2 separate regions of the Homo sapiens genome follow, and region 1 is linked to region 2. Evidence: promoter capture Hi-C in human tissues and cell types (Jung and others, 2019). All regions are on one chromosome and are shown on one strand. The core of a region is centred on a gene start or on the middle of the fragment in contact, and the rest is flanking DNA. Distances in the headings are between cores, read along the strand shown.

Region 1 (5,968 bases), core at 3,167-5,666, 140 kb before region 2:
AGTCCCACACAGTACGTTGCTTATATCTTGCTGGCTAGAAACTAATCAGGGGCCATACCTAGCAACATAAGAGGCTTGAAAATATAGCCTTTTATCTTAGGGCAATGTGTCTAGCTTTCTTAGTCCATTTTTGTGTTGCTATAGAGGAATACCTCCTGAGAAGGGGTAATTTACAAAGAAAAGAGGTTTATTTGGCACATAGTTCTGACGTCTGGAAAAGTTCAGGATTGGGCATCTGCATCTGGTGAGGGCCACAGGCTCCTTCCACTCATGGCAGAAGGTGAAGGGGGGCTGGCCTGTGCAGAGATCAAATGGAGAGAGAGAAAGTAGGGGATGGGGGAAGGTACCAGACTTCTTTTAGCAACCAGTTCTCCCAGGAACTAGTAGAGTAAGAAATCACTCACCCCCAATCTCCAGGGAGGGCACTAATCTATTCATGGGGGATCCATCCCCATGACCAAACACCTCCCATTAGGCCCCACCTCTGACACCGGGGATCAAATTTCAACATGAGGTTTGAGGGACAAACCTTCAAACTACAAAACTAGCTATCAGGCTCTTTTATAAGGAGGAAGGGAGAATAGATATTGGGATAAGCAACTAGCTGTCTCTGGTATACGTTTGCTCTTGTTTATACACTAAGTCATCAGACGGTAAAGAAAGGAAGGAAAGAAATGCTTTTTTTTCTTCTACCTGAAGCTCTGCAGTCTCTTCTCCCCATTCATCTACTCTGTGTCACATGAGAAGTTAGCAGTCTACAGATAATTTAAATTGCATGTATACTGAGGGCAAAATAAAGAGGAACTACATTTCTGGGATGTGTGTGCAAAACATATTATAACGTCCTGATCACCATGATCTGGAAGATAGCAATAATGATAGATGATCATTATTAATATTATGGTAGGTAGAAGTAGATGGAAGCTCTTTTCTCTCTAGATGCACTTGTCTAAATGCAGCTATATCAGTTACCCACTTTGATAAAAGTAAGATATAGGCTGGGTGCAGTGGCTCACACCTGTAATCCCAGCACTTTGGGAGGCGGAGGTGGGTGGATCACGAGGTCAGGAGACTGAGACCATCCTGGCTAACACTGTGAAACTCCATCTCTCCTAAAAATACAAAAAATTAGCTGGGCGTGGTGGCGGGCGCCTGTAATCCCAGCTGCTGGGGAGGCTGAGGCAGGAGAATGGTGTGAATCCAGGGGGCGGAGCTTGCAGTGAGCCGAGATCGCGCCACTGCACTCCAGCCTGGGTGACAGAGTGAGATTCCATCTCAAAAAAAAAAAAAAAAAAAGAAGTAAGATATATATCTGACTATAGCTGATACTGACAAAAATGGGGGAGAATCCTCCTACTTTCCAAATATCACCCATCTAGACTTTTTGTGGCATGGAAGTTGGAAATCTGTTTATTATATGAATTCTATTCAGAAAGTCTTGTTTAAGCATGCAAATGCCTGCCTCCAGCCCTATGCCTATATCCTCCATCTCTTCTTCCTATTAGAGCTAGTAAGTAGCTACCCAGTCATCAAGAACATTGGTCCCCACTTCTCAAAGGAAGAAGTCTCAGCCAGCTAAGCAAGGCTCTTCATCTCTATTTTTTCCAAAGTAGCATGTGTGCAGAACCAGAGACACATTAATCCATAGGGAATTTTTCCAGTGACAAATGCAAGAGCAGCACAAACATGCAAACATACATAAAAACATAGACAGGTACCCTGCTGAGACTAAAAGTATTTGTAGATTGTCAAACCACATCCAGGGATGAGTTATATCCTGGCAACTCTATTCCATTTTATACCACAAAAAAGTGCCATTGGACATATTGGGATAAGCAACTAGCTGTCTCTGGTATATGTTTGCTCTTGTTTATATGCTAAGATCACTTCATACAGCCTGGCAGGGCTATGAGTCCTGAGGCAATATCAGCCTCGGGCCACTCACATCTCTTCCCAGACTGAGCATTTCTCACTCTAATCACTGTTGCTCCGTGAAACACTAGCTGGGATGACCCTGTCTGTCAGATCCTTCTGGATGGAGTATTGGAATTTTTTTTGATATTTCTCCTTCAAGTTATTTAGGTACATCACCTCTTGATGTGTTTGAGTCTAAGAAAAACCTATAAGCTTTCCCTGAGAGGGACAGTGGGCTACAAGGAAGCAGGCTGGATTCCTGTTGGAGGATCAAGGGGTACATGGTGTGGATTTTCCAGACGAGGCTGCATAATATGGGCAGCGGAGAGTTTCAGTTCTCACTCAGATAAAGAAGTGAAGTGGAGAAGTTGAGTATAGCTTTTAGCCTTAACTGATCAATAGATAAGAACCTTACCGCCATAAAGAAGGGATTTTGCTTACATTACACACAGAGAGTATCTTTAGACCAGGAAGTAAATACTGCTCAGTTAATACCAAAGAGAGAAAATACAGTGTGTGCCACATAATGGCATTCTGGTCAACAATTGACCCCATATATGACAATGGTCCTTTAGATTAGAATTGAGCTGAAAAATTCTTATTGCCTAGTGACATTGTAGCTATTGTAACATTGTAGCACAATGCATTACTCACACAAATTTATGGTGAGAAAAATAAATCACCATGGATATATTCCTGAAAAGAGTGATACCTTCTCAAGGAGAGCCTCAGGAAGGTCCTTCAGAAGGGATTCCACAGGAAGGCACTGTTGTCACAGGAGATGACAACTCCAGGCATGTTACTCTCCCTGAAGACTTTCCAGTGGGACAAGATGTGGAGGTGGAAGACAATGATACCGATGATCCTGACCCTTTTTTTGCTAAGGTGTGTATTTATGTCTTGGTTTTTAACAAAAAAGTATTAAAAGTAGGAAAAATGTTAAAAACTTTAAAAATAGAAAAAAGCTTATAGAGTATGGATATAAAGAAAGGAAATATTTTGTACAGCTGTACAATGTGATGTGTTTGTGTTTGTTTGTTTGTTTGTTGTTTGTTTGTTTGTTTGAGACCGGGTCTCACTCTGTTGCCCAGGCTGGAGTGCAGTGGTGTGATCTTGGCTCACTGCAACCTCTGCCTCCCGGGTTCAAGTGATTCTCGTGCCTCAGCCTCCCGAGTAGCTGGGACTACAGGTGTGAGCCACCATGCCTAACTAATTTTTGTATTTTTAGTAGAGACGGGTTTTCACCATTATGGTCAGTCTGGTCTCAAACTCCTAACCTCAGGTGATCCACCTGCCTCAGCCTCCCAAATTCTGGGATAACAGGTGTGAGCCACGTGCCCAGCGATGTTTGTGTTTTAAGCAGTTATTACAAAGGGTTAAAAAGTTAAAAAAGTAAAAAGTTTATAAAGTTAAAAAGTCACGGTAAGCTAAGGTTGATTTATTATTGAAGAAAGAAAAACATGTTTTCCTAAATTGAGTGTAGCCTGAGTGTAGCCTAAGTGTACTGTGTTTATAAAATCCGTAGTAGTGTACAGTAAAGTCCTAGGCCTTCACATTCACTCACCACTCACTCACTGACTCACCCAGAGCAACTTCCAGTCCTGCAAGCTTTGTTCATGGTAAGTGCCCTGTACAGGTGTACCATTTTATATCTTTTATACCATAATTTTACTGTACCTTTTCTATATTTAGATATGTTTCAATACACAAATACTTACCACTGTATTACAATTGCTTACAATATTCAGTACAGTAACATGCTGTACAGGTTTGTAGCCTTGGAGCAATAGACTATATCTTATAGCCTAGGTATGTAGTGGGCTACACCATGTAGGTTTGGGTAGTACCCACTATGATGTTCACACAACAGAATTACGTAATGATATATTTCTTAGAACATATCCCCGTCATTAAGCAACTCATAACTGTGTGGGTAATCTCCACTGGTCCAATTCTGCCCCCCACCCCAAAAAAATGTAGCAGAAACCACAACGTGATACACACCATACTAGAGGCATAGCCCCAGATATGTGTTCCCACTTCAAATTTTCCACATAGGTTGGCTAAAACCAGGTCCTGGAATGTTAATTAGGACCTGATCGCAACTAATGGACCAGAAATTATGAAATGCTTCATGTTACCAGTCATTTAAACTAGATAGTTAAGAATCCAGTTATGGTTAGGTTCAAACTGAGGCTTAAATCTAATATATTTATTGCAAGTAACACTGAACACTCAAGTACCCTTGTTTTGAATCTAAACGACACCACGTATTGTATCCATTTCCTGCATCTTTGAACCATGCAGCAGCCAAATCTGTCATCTTTCTTTCTCATTTGGAAGTATTCAAAGTGACATCTCCTACTATGTCACCATACCTGAGAGAAAACGGGAGTTCGGTTCCCATGCACTGTTTTACATTAGACGAATTTAGTCTGAGAATGTAAGGCAAAGCTGGTAACCCTGCTGCCTGGGTTATGAGTAGGGTGGTATACCAGGGTCAGAGTTGCTCCCATTTTTTCATTTTTGGCCTGTTTGCTTCACAAAAACATTTTCCTTGCCTTAGTCTATCATTATGCCACTTTTTCTTCTTTTTCCTAGAAATATCCACCAGGAATGTGCACTATACGTGGAAATACAAACACAAACCGGAGCTGAGAAGGGCCTGGGTCCCCTGACATCAAGGTTTTTATAAAGAAAAATACACAAAGGCAGCCACGCCTCACTCTGGCTTCCTAGTAACCCCAGAAAAAAATTCCAGAAATGTGTTTTAATTCTTTAGCCTGAGTGACAAAAAGGTTAAAATGTTTCCCAAAGTCCACTTAAGAATAATTCCGACCTTGGGAAAATGGATTTTGTTAGCCCCAAAGCTTATTAAGATTAATGGCAAGAGGGGCTCGTTATTCTGCCAGAAAAATCTACTTACAAATCTAAGAGGGGGATTTTATTCTGTCCATTTCTAAAAGCAGGGGACTTAGAGTGCCTGACAAGTACCCCCTAGGAAGAGGGTGTGCCATATACAGACAGCAGGGGTGCATGACTGGGATGCTCACTTGGAGAGGTATTGGCTAGGCCAGGAAAAAGGGTTCCTTTATGGGACTTCCTATATAGAGAGGTCACCCTGCTCTCACTTCTGAAACCTACCACCCTGGCCACACAACTAGGTTTTATGGAGCCCAGAAAGATATTCAGAAACTGGAGCCTTATTCAGCGTGTAAAAAGCTCTCATGCCTGTTGGCCTTGTTGCTGCTCCACAACAGGGGACTGTGGCTTATTCAAGTGCTCAGCCATCACAATGACCCCACCACCTCTTTCACGACAACCCCACCACCTCTTGGCCCTGCAGCCCCAGCTTCAGACACTGCTGACCAACTGACTCTTCCCATGCCTTGAATGGAAACTCACAGGCAGGATCCCGGCAATTTGCTTATGCACCACGAAGTGCCAGGTATCTCTGTGGGGCGGCACCCGTGGGCTGGCTGCTTTTCAGGTGCAAGATGGATGGCAGAATTTTGGCAAAGTGCTCAGCCCTGGCTATCTTGGCAAGGCAGAGCACAGAAGCCTGTTGCTGAGAGACCGGAATTCCCAGACTCAGAGATGACTAGACAAGGACTCTGGCTTTGATTATCAGCTCATGGAATTGGTGGAAGGCAAATAGACAGGAAGCCTTCAGGTTTTTAAGGAATTTGGTTCAGTCCAAGAAACCCAAGCCTGGCTGACAACAGCCTGTGATTCTTCAATCCCTGAGGTAATTTCCAGGCCCCTCAAATTTGCACCAAAAAGTAATGGGCTTCAAAGAAGTACAGATCCCAAAAAGGGCATATGTGCCAATATCTATCTCAGATGGGCTAAGAGGACAACGGACAAGGGAGACGTTTCCAGACAGCACATCTAGGATTTGTCAGATTGGCTAACCAAGGAACTCACTGCATTACCAAGGCAAGAACACTTCACTGTTCCTGTCAAGCAGGGAAAAATACATACAGTGAATCAGAGACCACTGTGTACTGTTTTCTCATTGTCTATTTCTTCCAATAAAAGTTTTCCTTGAAGC
Region 2 (5,840 bases), core at 1,908-4,407:
CCCTAGGGGGGTTGGCGCGGTTAAGAGCCCCACGTGAGAGGGGCGGAAGTCCTTGCCAGGAGCCGGGGATGCGCGGCTGGCGGGTCCCTTCCATCACGGGAGACGAGACACCGTTTGATGTGTTATGACATGAACCCTCAATTAGATCGCTGAGTTGAAACACTCCAATCAGGGGCCCGATGCTAAGCAAGCCCCGGAAGGTCCAGCCTGAGGTCACCGCCGGTGACACATCAAATCAAAATCAGTGAGAGGGAAAGTGAGGCTTTCCCTTTATCAAGCTGGGGCTGCAGCCAGCAACGCACCCCCTCCTCTGCGCACCCCTCCCGCCCGTGGCTCCGCACTCCTTCACCCCCGCGCGGCGTGCGACAAGCCGCACCGCCTTCCCAGTCAACGAACTGCCTTTCTTCGCATTTTCTGAGAACCCGGAGACGCGGAGGAGACAGCGCCTTTGAAGATGCTGTCCGGGTGGTCATGCAGCGTCTCCTCCCGCTGTGGACCGCTCGCATCCCCAGCCCTCCACCGCATTCCGGGGTTGTAGCGGTACTTGTGGATCTCGGTCCTGCTAGTCTGGAGGCCTTGGCTCGGGAACAGAGGCCTCCCCAGACTGGGTGCACATGCAATCCCTCCTCTATCTCCAGGATCGGGGGCATACAGCGCAGTGGCGGGGATGGGGGTGGGGAGGCTACAGGGCAAACCAGGGTAAAGTGATTTCGCGTCTACGCCGGATTGGGGCCCCCAAGACTTTTCCCCAACCCTTGTCTGAATGCCACAGGCTTCCGGAGACACCTCCGAACAGCCCGCAGGGTCTTTTGGTCCTGTGCCAAATTCACAGGGCGCAGCGAACCAGTTATGGTGCCCACTTGGGGGAGGGGCAGAGATTCTTGCCACTTCATTCCCGGGCAAAGAAAATCCGCGCCCAACCGCCGGCCAGCCTAGGCCTCTGGGACTTCTTCTCTTGAGGAAGGGCCTCTTGAGCAGTCTTCTCTGAGCTTCCTTAGCCTCCTTCCGCAATTGTAGTAGAGAAAGTGCACGATTAACAGAGGACTTTGAGGGACAGAAACAACTGTAGCAAGGCGTGCGTCGTGGGGAGGGTTGGCGAGCTGCACGGGCAGCACGGAGGCCAGGGACTCAGTTGCACTACTACGAAGAAGCCACATGTCTTTGCAAAGGTGACTTTAGTAGCCCTAAAATCATCATAAAATACCTGGCGTTAATTTGCCCTCTGGACCTTTCAGCAGCTCATGAACCTCGCTGACCTCGGGCTGCAGCGGCGAGACCCTCGAGCAAGGAACGCGACTATGAGTGAGAGGCGGGGACTGGAGCCGGGGAAGAGCTCGGGGCTGGGGGCGGGGGGGCCGTTAGCCTGCTCTAAAAAGCTTAAGAGATGTGCGAGCACCCAGGGTAGCAGTGGCTGAAGCAGCTTCCGAATCCCGAACCCCAGCGCTGCAAGGTTTCCGGGCAACCCCACTTAACTGGGAGCAGGTCAAAGTCATGGAGCTAAGTCTAGGGAGGATGGAGGAGTGGATATCTGCCTAAATCGCTTTTATCCCGTCATTTTCTTCCTTCCTTCTCTTTACTCTTCCTTTCCTTTTTCTCCCTTCCTTTCCTGTCTCCTTCCACATTATTGTCTCTCTCCTTTAGGAGCTTAGTTTCCGATGCCTGTGGATCCTTCCCTGATTTCTGGGACCAGAGGTGGTGCGAGGTTTTCTTGAGGGCACTGGCCACGCTGCAGATCAACGCCGGTGGCAAGAAGGGGCCGCAAGGGTTTCCGCAGACACCCACACATGCAGGCGTTCCCACAGAGGGTACCAGGGATTTCCCAGACCCCCACCAGCCCTCAGGAATAGCGTAGAGAGAGGAACGTCGCCTGGCTGAGAAAGGTGGATGGGCATACCCATGTACCTTTGTGTATTAAGTACCCACAACCTCCGAACTTAGCCGTCCCTGTCCCGGCCCGCCCAACTGCTGCCGCCGCATCTGCAGAAACCACTCGTGTTGAGGCCTCGGAGCAGCCGGGAGCACCACGCTGGAGCAAAAAAGCCGGAGGGCGCAGGGCTCCAGCCCGGCTGACCATCCCACCCAGCGCAGGGACCAACGGAAAACCCGCGCGGCGCCAGGACCAGGGGGCTGCCCGACGCCGCTCGCGGACTAGTTCCTCAGACTGTGGGACTCCCTAGTGCCGGCTTTGCCCAGGGCTTTCCAAGGCTGTCTCATGCCCTAGATCTGCCCCAGCAGCTCAGGCCTTGGACTGCGAACCCAGTATCCCGAGACACCGATTCCATCAGTCCCCATCCCGACCCCTCTCCAGCCGGGTTCATCCGCCTGCTGCCTCCCGTCCTCCACGTTTCCCCCACCAGCCACCAACAAGCGGCAACCACGCTGCCTTCTGCAAAAGAGGAAGAAGGAAAGAAGGGAGAGAGAAAGAAAGGGGGGGAAAGGAAGGGAGGTTTAGAGACTGGAATAGAATCCGCAGCCACATTCAGAAACTTACTCGAGCTTGAGAAAAACAATTTAAGAAAAGTAAAAAGGAAGTGTCCAGAGCAGGAAGGGAATTCACAAATGTAGCCTCCAGCGGGAACAGCTCCCTGGCTGCCGAGCTCCAGCGGGAGGGGAGTCGAGCGTTTTCTTTGCCACTTACCTAGTCCCCTGTCTACAAAGCTGGTGATCGTATTAGCCGACTTGGAAGACTGGAAAAAGCTGGCATTGATGCCCAGCTTCTCAGCGATGGAGTAAGTCCTGTAGATTGACAGCATGTACTCGTGGGGCACCACGCGCGGACCCCTGCCTGGCGGCTCCTGCGCCCGGGGCTGCTGAGCCCGGGGTTCGTCCTGAGGCCGCGGCTGTGGTTCCTGGCCCTCCCGGCCCGCGTCACTGTCGCGCGGCGCCCGCTGCATCTTGCCTTCCTTGCGGCTTCGCATGCCCTTGGTGGAACCCAGCTCGGCGGACGACGAGGAGGATGAGATGGAAGCCTGCTGGAAACCGGGCAAATCCCACAGAAAACTGATGAGGAAGACGGCCGAGAGCAGGACCCTGGGAGTATCCATGGCGGGCAAGTGGCTGCGTCTCCCCAGGAGGCGGTGGCGGCGGCGCAGGACGCGCGGGGCACGGAGCGGCTGGACAGCGGCCGGGGCCCGGCTCCTCGGGCGGACTCGGAGTGCGAGGAGCCGGGTCCCAGCCACACAAACCCCGGCCCCGCCACGCCCCCTCCCGCCCCTCGCCGGGAGGGGAGGAATGGGGAGGGAGGGCAGAGGAGGGGTGGGGAGGGTGGGAGGAGAGCCGGGTGGTGCGGGCCGGAGGTGTGGGGGAGAGGGGCCGCGGTGCGCCGGTGTGGCAGGAAGACGCAGCGCCCCCGCGGGACGCGCGCGGGGTTGCCGGGCGGTGCGCGCGGCGCGGGCCGCAAGCGCTGACCGGGGGAAGGCGGGCGCTGCCGGCCCGTGGCCGGGGAGCAAAGGCTGGCCCGCCGCGCCAGGGTCCCCCTCGAACTCCCGGAGGTGTGGTCCCTCCGCAGCGCGGCCCCGGCTCTCGGTCCTCGCCAGCCGCCTCCACTTTCCTGGGAGCGAGCGGCCCCGGAGGAGGGAAGCGGCGGCGGCGCCCCCAAGAGACAGCTTGGAGCAGGCGCCTCTGCTGCAGGCTGCGTGCTGCCTCGGGGCGGTGGTACCCTCCCTCCTCGGCCCCAACCGCCAGGCCTGCCGTTTGCGCCCCTCAGGGGCCAGCCCGGAGCCAGAGAAGCCTCGCCCTGGGCCAGGCGCAGGGCCCAGCTCGGAACAGCCCCATTTTCTCGGTTGGGTATCGCTCTCCACAAAGACAGGCGTCTATTCCCGACCCTCGAGGTCAGGCAAAGGCCACGAGTCTTTAGAGTTTGGATCGATGCTAAAAGCTGCTGCGCTCCCCTGCAGGCCCCAGCCTCTCCTCTCGCAGTCCCCAACCTCTTCTGACGCAGACTTTAGCTGCTCCACTTCTTCGTCTGCTCCCGGGATCCTCTCCCTCTCGCGGCCTGCCCCCCGCCTCCACTGCATCCCCATTTTCCCTCTCTTCTTTCCCTCCCGCCTGCAGGACTTCCTCCTTCCCCAAGTTCCTTCTGCATTCCAATCCCTCTTCCCCAGCCTGCTTTTCTTCTCACACTGCCCTCCCATCTCACACTGCCTTCCCACCCTCTCTCTTCCCGGCCTCCCCCCTCGCCTTCCAGTGGACCCCTCCCTTTGCAGCTCTACCCCAATCTGTTTCTCTTCAGCCCAGCCTCGCCCCATCACGAGTTTCCTTTATCTGTCCCCAGATTCCCCGTGCCTGTCTTCCCCGCCCACTGCCTCGCTCATTCCTGGGCCTGCACGCTGAAAGGCGATGCGGCGTAGCGCTGCTTCTGTCTGCCACAGTGCTCTGCCCTGGACTGCTATGGGCAGAAGAGTTTCCCTCAGTACTGATTGGGTGCTCAGGCACCAACCATAAAGTACCCTCCTTTAATCGTGCCAACAGCTTTGTGAGGTTGGCGTTGACTATTTTCACCTTCACGGATGGAAAAAAAAAAGACTCAATGGAAATAAGTGACTTTTCCAAGGCCACTCTGCCAAGAGGTTATGCAGCAAGGGACAGAACCCAGGCTCCCACCCCAAGCCCAAGATTCTTCCCACTACAGCATAGACAGTCATTCCTGGCCCAACTTCTCTATTTCAGTTCTGGCTTTTTTCTTCTCTTTATGGTTTCACTTGATCTCAGGTGGCTTCTTTCTCCGCCATGCTACTTTCTGTGTGTGTTCCCAGTCTCTCCAATCTCCTCCCTCTCACTTTCTAACCCCTTCTTCCTTTTGCTTTTTCATCACCTCTTCTGTCCTGCAGGGACCACTCACATGACAGCCTGCAGGGGGAGGGAGTTTTGCTGCGCTGCTCCCCTCATCCTTTAACTTCCTTAAGGTCTGGGATATGCCCTCCACCCTGGACACTGGCCTCCTCCAGGTAATGGCAAGCACCCACAGAGAACTTGTGTGTCAGTCATGGTTTGAAGCCCTTCGCCAATATTATTTTACTTAATCTTCACAGCAATCCTGAAATAAGTGCTGTATTATTCCTATTTTACAGATAGGGAAAGTGAGGCCCAGGGTCACACTACTCCAGAGTCTGGGCTCTTAATCACTGGGCTATTGAGCTTGGCTGCTCTCCCCTTGGTCTCCGTGGATGCCCCTTCTGGCCCTATCCCAATTCTACTTATGTCCCCTAGTTTGGGTTTCATGGTTGTCAAGTTCTGAGACCTTATACTTGAAGGTGCTTTTACTATAATATTTTCTTCCTTCCTCTCTCTGTGCTTTAAAATGGCTTGTTAATATTTACAATAAAATAAAATAAAAGGAGATAAACTGAAAGAAAAAATTATTTCTCAAATTTTTGCCACTACAACAAATCCAAATGTTTTTACCTTTTGGGTTCCCTTCCACTCCTTCTTTATTTGTTATGCACATATCCTTTTCATATTATTGTAATCCAGGGATAGATATTATGTTGGATTCCTCCCTTGTCACTTAACATTTTACAACCAAATCCACTGCCTTCGATGTCTCTCCCCTATGTCCCCCCTTCACTGCCCCTCTGCTGGCCTGCAAATGCAATCTCTGTAAAACCACAGACTCAAAACTCCCCATTTCTCATTTGCAGAAGGAACATTTCCCCCCTGCCTACCTGTCGCCTGTGGGATGTAAGTGGTCTTTTTTGGCCTGCCCTGTGTCTTGCTCTGTATGTCTGCCTCTCAAGTGTCATCCGGGAAAGTGCCCTCCTTGTGATCTATTTCCATCCCTTCCCCAGGAAACAACACTTGTGGTTTGTGTTATCAATATTTTAATTTCTATCAGTATGGTG

Evidence for each region. The method cuts DNA at HindIII sites, captures the fragments that hold promoters and counts their contacts. A contact is called where the count stands out against the background at its distance.
Region 1: a fragment that was not itself captured here is called in contact with the fragment with the promoter of GDF6 in region 2 in 2 of the 25 tissues and cell types used here (IMR-90 fibroblasts and mesenchymal stem cells).

Annotation. Positions count from the first base shown.
Region 1 is chr8:96,016,279-96,022,246 of GRCh38, forward strand. LOC124901983 (a long non-coding RNA gene) reads left to right here. Exons shown (of 3, transcript XR_007061016.1): 2 at 2,636-2,799; 3 at 4,516-5,968. Among named protein-coding and RNA genes, the nearest start is that of GDF6, 140 kb to the right of the region's middle. The HindIII fragment of the contact is 3,826 bases long and covers 2,504-5,968 here.
Region 2 is chr8:96,157,649-96,163,488 of GRCh38, forward strand. It overlaps GDF6 (growth differentiation factor 6), which reads right to left and starts at 3,158. Exons shown (of 2, transcript NM_001001557.4): 1 at 2,639-3,158. The coding sequence starts at 3,044. The HindIII fragment of the contact is 22,921 bases long and covers 1-5,840 here.